Regions from separate parts of the Homo sapiens genome. Here region 2 is linked to region 1. The links are contacts of gene promoters, found by promoter capture Hi-C in blood cells and fetal thymus (Javierre and others, 2016). All regions are on one chromosome and are shown on one strand. The core of a region is centred on a gene start or on the middle of the fragment in contact, and the rest is flanking DNA. Distances in the headings are between cores, read along the strand shown.

Region 1 (4,118 bases), core at 1,025-3,524:
ATCCAGTTTAAATGTTTGCTCTGCATGAGGAAGTGTTCTCTGCTTCCCTGCAATGGCATACTATCTTTTCTGAGTTTGTCACCCTACTCAGCACTGTCCTGGGCAATAATCACACAGCGTGTACACGTCTCTCCACTCATCAGTAAGCTCCCTGAGGATGGCAGACAATGCGTCTTTTCATTCTTTATGGAAATCTGCCTCATCTCACAGGGTAAAGACGTAAAACACATGTAATGCATACATTCTTTGGACCTAACAACTTAATCGAATCATTATAACAATAGTTAATATTTCAGGATTTTTCTAAAGTCTTTAAAATATAAAGTAAAAATAATATAAAGCACCATGCTCATAACATGAAAGTTTCTGGGGCGTGGGTAATGAAGATGAGAAAATATATTCTGAGGTTTCTGCTTTCAAAATGAGAGTTAAAGGTAGTATGAAAGTGGGTAATTTTTTTTTTTTTTTTTTTTTCCCTGAGACAAGGTATCTCTCTGTGGCCCAGGCTGGAGTGCAGTGGTGCCATTCATGGCTCACTGCAACCGCAACCTCCTGAGTTTAAGCGATCCTCCTCCCTCAGGCTCCCGCCTCAGCCTCCAAGTAACTGGGAATACATATGTGCACCACAACACCAGGCTACCTAATTAATTAATTAATTGATTGATTAATTTTTGAGACAGAGTCTTGCTTTGTTGCCCAGGCTGGAGTGCAGTGGCAATCTCGGTTCAATGCAACCTCCGCCTCCTGGGTTCAAGCAATTCCCTCCCTCAGCCTCCCGAGTAGCTGGGATTACAGGCGCCCACCACCACGCCCGGCTAATTTTTTTGTATTTTTAGTAGAGACGAGGTTTCACCATGTTGATCAGTGATCCTCGTGATCCACCTTGCCTCAGCCTCCCAAAGTGCTGGGATTACAGGCGTGAATCACCTCGCCCGGCCAATTTTTTATTTTTGTACTGTTTGGTCTTGCTATGTTGCCCATGATGATCTTGAACTCCTGGCCTCAAGGGATCCTCACGTCTGGGCCTCCCAGTGTGCTGGGATTACAGGCTGGGCCATTGTCCTGGGCCCAGAGTTAATTATTTTTAAATATGCATCTCACCTCACTGGCCTCAGCCACCCCGAAGCAAAAGCTTCCTGGAGAGTGACAGCCTCAACCCAATAGAGGGAGGAGAAAGGGCGTTCCTATTGCAGCTGCAAGCACTCAGGTGTCCCTGGTCCCCTTCCATGCACCTCATTAGTCAGGCGCACAGCAGGGTCTGTGTCACTGCCAAGGCGCCTCTCTCCTGTAGCATCCAGGGTTTTAACCACATTATGCATAGCTCCGGGGTTCGTCGGCACCTCTCTCCCTGCAGGTGAGACTGGTACACTTCAATAAACAGATCTCACTCAACTTAAGCAGAGAGCTGACAAACTTGGCGTTCCGTGCGGCAGAAGTAAGCAGCAATCGCTGAGTTTGTAGAACTTACACTTGGGGCCATTTCAAGGCCAATGTTCCCTTAAGAACCAAAACGCGAAACTGCTCTTCCAAGGGTCCTTTTCAACCAGAAGAAGCTGCTCCATCTGTCGTCCCTGCCCTGATTCAAGATGAGGCGGTCACTATCTAGAGGTCAGCTGGCTGACCCGGTCACCCTCCAGGTGTCCCCCCGAGATCGCCCCCTCCCATTCCCCACAAGTCCAGTTCGCTCACCAATCTTGGCCAGGGAGGCCAGCAGGATCCAAAGGGTGATCTCGAAGGGGATCTGCACGTGGGGGTAATCCAGCGTAAACACAGGCAGCCGGCTCTCCTCGAACAGCGTCGTTCCGGGAGCCACCACGCTCGCAGGGCTAGGCGGGCTGGAACTGGTGCCCATGGCCCTCGGCGCGTTCAGCAAGGTCTCCGCCAGGGCGCCCACGGGCCCCGCCACCTGCAGGAGCAGCAGCAACAGCATCGGAGGCAGTGGCGCCCGCAGGCTCCTCCAGTTGCCCAGTGGTTCCATGGGTGCCGCCGGTTGCCGCCAAGGGGACCGGCGGTTGGCCCTCCGAGCGCTCAACGCATCGCGCCCGGGCTGCTCAGCCCGCTCCGCCCTGCCCCGTGCAGGGCAGGGCAGCGACAGCCACCCGCCGCTGCTGCGGCACCGGGTCTCTGCAACCAGAGGGCTAGGTCCTCGCTGCGAGCAGGCGCACTGCCTGGCGAGGCACGTGCAGGGCGACGAGAGGCCGCTGCGCGTACCCTCAGCAGCCCTCAGCCGCCCTCCGCCGCCGGCCGCCTGCCCATGCCGGTGCGCTGCTCTCCAGCCGCAGCGGCAGGCCCTGCCCAGGGCGGCCCGCGGGCGGGGGCGGGGCGGGCGCGGCGCCCAAGCCGCAGGGCAGGAGGACAAGGGGACCTGGCCGGCACACCGCGCACCTGCCCGAGCCCGCGGGGAACGCGGGGCCCCAGTGACCGCGGGGGCGATGGCTGCCCTCCCTTCGCGCAGGCACCGCGCGCCAAGACCCGCCACCCCCAGAGCCAGCGAACTGTGGGTGGAATCGCCGCAACGGGCGCATGGTGGCCGGAGCTGTCTCCGCCCCGGAGGCAGCGTCGGACGTCCATCCAGTGAAGGAACCAGCGCGACCCACGAGTCGCGCCCTTCCCTCCTCCCCCGCCCCCGCAGGCTCCTCCAAGGGGACACCCCGGTGCGCTGGGCGCGCGGGGAGGCGCCACAGGCTCGCGGTCCGGAGGAGAAGCCCGGGCCGGTGGAGGAGGAGTGCTGTCACCCCAGCCTGGCGCTGCGGAGGCCAAGACAAGGCATGGGATTCTCTGGACGTACAGAAAGTTTAGGAAAGCCAAATTTTGTTTCCTTTCCGAGAGTTATCAACTCGCGCACAAGGTGCTCTGAACAGGGAAACTCCCTGCGCGGAACTCAGTGTTCCCACGCCCCCACGGAATCGGAATCCTGTTCTCTCCTCTTGCCACATTGTGCTGCTTTCACCCATTTGCTACACTGTCGCTGCCACTTTTCTTCTCCCTCCCCCAGCTCACGTAAAAAAAACCAAAACATCTTTCTCCGCTTTTAGGCTTAGAGGTGTACATGTCCAAGAGCATAAGAAATATAATTATTTCATGGAAAACCAGTGATTTGCCTCGCTCAGATTGACTTGCTCCGCTAATTACAGGACAGGCTGTGGTCAGGAAAAGAAAGGAAGCGTGATTCTTCTTCTGGATCTAAAAGGGCTTTCTCATGCAGAGCCAACCTTTCCTGTCCTTCAGAGCGCCTCCTTCACTGGTTGCGATCTCACTGTTTGAGCATCTTTATCGCCAGAAACCGAAATGAGCACAAAGGGGACTAGTTGCCATTCAATTAACTGAAAGTTTTCCCTTTGATATTTATGAAATAAAATCCTTCTCTTTTCTTAATCTTTGATGTGTCAAAACACGTGGCTTCTACTATTAAACAAACACCAGGCAGTTCGACCTTCAAAGCCGTTTTTTTTTTTTTTTTCTTTCAAAGTTCTAACATAGAAAATCAGTGAGATGTCAGCAGAGGGTACAAGAAAAAAAAATCCTCCACCTGCATAGAAGAAAATAAGGAACAGTCCTCTTTGGGTCTTCAAAGTAATGGAGGGACAAGTCCAGGCTAAAAAGAGAGAAGAATTCTGGGAGATGTTACAGAGCACTACTTCATTTGATATTTCACAAAGCATCAGTTTTTCAAAAGCGCTACAGAATTGAAACTAAAGATATTATCTTGAGAAGAATCATTGGGCATCCAAAACTCAGCCTCCCCTTCTCCTTTCACTGGAAACGTTTATTAAAGGTATGTGCCTAACATACCCCTGTGAAAAGGCAGCAAATAAGAGATTTTTAAATTTTTTGAGTATCTGTCTCTACATGGGAAGCTCAATACAAGGCACTTTACTTGCATTTTTTTGTCAATCGTAAAAATCCAAAGAGGCAGATATTTTTTACCCATTTTATAAGTGAAGAAATATAGTGTAGAAATGTGTAAAAATAAACAAATAGACTTAATCAAGTTTACATATTAAGTAAGTGTCTGGATGGAATTCACACCCAGGCCTGCCCAGGCTAACACTGGTATCATCTCACCCTCTACCCCATGACTAGTTGCCCATAAACAGCACGCTATATTCTCAGCTACT
Region 2 (4,118 bases), core at 946-3,445, 380 kb after region 1:
TCTGAAGGGTGTGCCTGTGAATTTTAGAAAATGGATTCTCTAGCAATTAATTATTTATAAATGAATGACCACACTCACAGGACATCAGTCGAGGCTGTCAGCAAAATAGAAAGCTGACCCGTCAGACGAAAAGGTATTTTCTGGAAACCTCTGACTTCCCGGAGACCAGCACTGTTGGTAAATTCTTTAACTGGAGTTTTATAAGTCAAAAAGCTTCCCTCTTTCCAACATGTGTCACTACTTTCTTTTTATTGAAAAGTATCAAAAATGTAATAGTAGTAATGAATTATAGTAGCCATTTTTTAATGCTGTTATTCTTAAAATGTATTTTATGTCCTACCTCAGAGCAATGGGGAGGCAATGGGAAGGCAATGGGAAGGCAATAGGGAGGCATAGCTTAATGGGCACAGAATTTCAGCTTGAGAGGATGAAACAATTCTGGAATGGATGGTGGTGATGGCCGCACAACAGTGTGAATGTACTTAATGCCACTTAAAAATTGTTAAAATGGTGAATTTTATGTTCATATAGTTTACCGAAATAAAAATTTTAAAAAGCAAATGTTAAATAAAGAGTGGACCAATGTCAAGTCGAGGCCTCCATAGGATGCTAAACAAATGTGTAATGTGAGGTCACCTTGGAACATAAACTCTTCAAAGACAGGAGTGGGTTCCTTAGCACCTGAAAGTCCATCCCACACTGGGTACCACCCATCGCCTGTGAACGAGGGCACAGCACCTCCTAACCCACCCTGCTCCCCATGCCATCCTAAGACCACAGGCCTCCTGACACCCTCTGGCTCCCTCTCTCGCCCCTGCCGGCTGGCTCTCAGGGCTGACTCCCTTCCAGCCCCCACTGACTGCTTACTAAGTCTCAGTGTCAACAACCCACAGCTTCAGAAGGTTGAGCTATGCCTAATTCCCTCAGGCCAGGGTCTTGGAAAAAAGTGATGAGGGTTTACAGCTAATTTTTAGTATTAAAAACCTTTAATCATTAAGTTATAAATTGGCCTGTGACAAGGGCACATTGGCTCATTGGAAACTGACTTTGCCTTGCTTGGACTATAATTCTATCATCTGTGTGCTAATTGCGTCTCTCACAGGCTGCTCAGAATTCTGGTTGACATGTGTCTAAAAGAGAGAGAAAAGGAATTCCTGCTTGCTTTAGTTTGACAGATAAAGCCTCTCAAACATGGAAGGGTGACCAAGAGGCAGTCATGGCCACTCCCGTGGGTCCCCACTGGTCTAGGTGACTTTTAACTTGCTTCTGGAAGCAAAGTGCTAAGGCTGTGTTTGCAGCTCTTTGTCTGCACTGACAGAGTGAGAGAGACGCAGACACAGCAAATGACCCCTGAGCATGGGGCCCTGAAGACACTGGACAGGCGTGGACAAATACTGCTATCCTTGCCAACCCTCTCCTGGTGCTAGACTGCCCTCCTGTGGTCCCCCGACAGCACAGGCTCCCATCTCAGACTCTATGGGTGCCACATCATGGGCAAACTTCCGGGCATGTCCACTGCCATTTCTAAAACCCTCCATGTCCTGTTCTCAAGGGGCCCAAGTGCTGTATCCATCCAGGCCTCAGTGAGTGGGCATGTGTCAATAAGCCCATAGGCTAAAGAGGGCCTTCTGCAGAAGCCGTGTGTTTCCCTGAAGAAGCAGCTCTGATCGAAGCAAACAAATGACAACAAACACAACAGATCCTCTCACTAGTACGCAACTGCCAGCTTCAGAGCAGACGGCCCCGATGAAACGTGTCCTCCTCCAGCTGTGAGCCACCACGCAATGATAGACCCTCCATCAGTGCGTGACAAACCTCGTGTCCTCCCACCCGCTCACCTGCGGTGCGGTAGCAAGGTGTGTGCTGCAGCAGCTGGACCGGAGGAAACGGCCGACACCTTCTGGGCGGCATGTGGTATCTCACTGTCTTCCAAAACTTGGTCTTCATACACTGTGACTGCTCCGTGAAGTCCCCATGCCACCGGATGGCACCATGCTTCTGTTTGATGTACTGAATTGACTCTGGCATGACTGTGTAGTCCTCGATTTTCTCCAGCTCAATGAGAATAACCTTCATCCCGTCCTGGATCAGGGCACTGTAGACCGCGATTTGTTCTTCTGACAGGTTCTTCAACAGGCCAAAGCCCAGCGATTCGGGGACCACAATGACAATCAGCCTCCTGCACAGCTTAACGTTTTCATCGATGACATTGGCCACGGCTGGAAATAAAGAAAGAAGGCTCAGAAGAACTCACAATTAAAACAGCCCGGGTCTTAATGCTAGTGAGAATGTTTGAAACAGGCCAGGAGAAAATTGACTTTTTTTTTTTGAAGTGAAGTCTCACTGTGTTGCCCAGGTTGGAGTGCAGGGATGCAATCTCAGCTCACTGCAACCTCCACCTCCCAGGTTCAAGCGATTCTCCTGCCTCAGCCTCCTAAGTACCTGGGATTACAGACACGTACCACCACGTCCAGCTAATTTTTGCATTTTTAGTAGAAACGGGGTTTTACCACAAGCTGGTGTTGAACTCCTGACCTCAAGTGATCTGCCCACCTCGGCCTCTCAAGGTGCTGGGGTTACAGGTGTGAGCCACCTTGCCTGGCCAAAAATGGACTTTAAAATAAACATGACTTAGTCAGGAATGGATTAATTCAAGTTTTGGGTTTTTTCTTTTTTTTAATATTTGTCACCTCTTCTGTGAAGCCTTTGTGGCTTTCCCTGGAGCCTTGGTCCTCTATAGTCATGAATCATGTTTTGCATGTGGTTTCTTTGTATGTCACTTTCCCTGGCCAACAAGTATCTGATGGTTCCTAACTCTGTATCCCCAGACTAGCTGAAGGTCTGGTGTATATTAGCAGATGAACACGTTTTTAAAAATAGATTTTAAAAGGATAGGAAAATGTAGTTAGCTGAAATGTTGCATTAATCTTGAATCTGTGTTTTCCTTTTGTTCTTTATAGTTATTTAAATGACCAGGATTTATGTGAGTAATTTAGAAACCAAATAACATGCCCTGATGATTGCTTGGGAAAGGGAGGTTTCTCTAAATACCCAGCTCTGCAGATGCTATTCAGTCTACAGTTGCCTCTCATGGGAAATAAGAATAGACTGGAACCTCCCTGAGGACAGGCCCTTCCGCTTGGCTGATTTTCATATTTCTAGTGCCTAGAATACTGTCCATCACATAGAGGTTTTCAGTAAATATTTGTTGAATAAGTGAGTGAATTGGCATTTACTGGTGACTAGAAAAGAATGTTTATTTCAGATTTCAGCCATTTTGCTGTATAGCCTTCCAAGAAGGAGAACAAAGGGACAGGAAAGCACTGTTGTGTGAGTGTCTAAAGTGTGCTGAGCTCCATGCCGGGGACCCCTTCTCAGGTTTTCTCATTCAGTTCTCTCATCTGAGTCAGGGAAGCACCCCATCCCCATTTTACAGATGAGACAACTGAGGTTGAGAGAAGTTAACTGAACTGTCCAAAGCCACCTTCCTATCAAGTGGGAAAAGTACACTAAAACTTCCATTATATTTAGGGAGGGGAGGGGGCAAGTAGGGTCGAGGTTTATAAAATCAGCTTTAAGCACGACCTGATTTACATTGTTCAAACCCATGGAAAACACCCAGCAGTTCATCTCAGGGATGTGAGGCTCAAATGACCACTCGCCACCTTTCAGTCCTTTAGCCACCACTACATCACTGGCCACCTGTTTCTGTGAATGGCTTAACCATATCCTCACTCAAAGTGAGACGCGTGCTGCTGCAAGCAGGAATCTCAGGCACTGCGGGGCAGGGAGGAGCCTAGAGCAGGCAAAGAGCTTGGGCCTAACCTCCTTGGCTGGGGGCTGGGGGCTGACGGGCAGGGGGCGCTGGTCATAGACTCTCTGTGGTTCCATGGGGAAGGCAGGCAGAGTCACCGCCATTAGTAAAGTGGAGGAACAGAGGGGTCGCTTTCCTTCTTTTATTTGTTATTTTTACACCTCACTTAAAACCCACCTTGTCCAGGGAATTCATCTCTGCCGAATATAAACAACTTATATCCACATTGTCTCTCCAACACCTCGGGCAGGATATTCAACACCAGGGCATCCACGGCATGCCTCTGGCTTTCCTTGTGGGGCTT

Evidence for each region. The method cuts DNA at HindIII sites, captures the fragments that hold promoters and counts their contacts. A CHiCAGO score of 5 or more calls a contact.
Region 2: a fragment that was not itself captured here is called in contact with the fragment with the promoter of SLC9A2 in region 1 in 2 of 17 cell types (megakaryocytes and erythroblasts); the score reaches 6.3 in megakaryocytes.

What each region holds. Positions count from the first base shown.
Region 1 is chr2:102,617,709-102,621,826 of GRCh38, reverse strand. SLC9A2 (solute carrier family 9 member A2) reads right to left here and starts at 2,274. Exons shown (of 12, transcript NM_003048.6): 1 at 1,690-2,274. The coding sequence starts at 1,978. RefSeq lists a silencer at 2,557-2,666. The HindIII fragment of the contact is 5,203 bases long and covers 1,135-4,118 here.
Region 2 is chr2:102,232,998-102,237,115 of GRCh38, reverse strand. It overlaps IL1RL2 (interleukin 1 receptor like 2), which reads right to left. Exons shown (of 12, transcript NM_003854.4): 10 at 3,992-4,118; 11 at 1,839-2,219. Among named protein-coding and RNA genes, the nearest start is that of IL1RL2, 48 kb to the right of the region's middle. RefSeq lists enhancers at 1,273-1,773, 1,774-2,274. The HindIII fragment of the contact is 3,960 bases long and covers 216-4,118 here.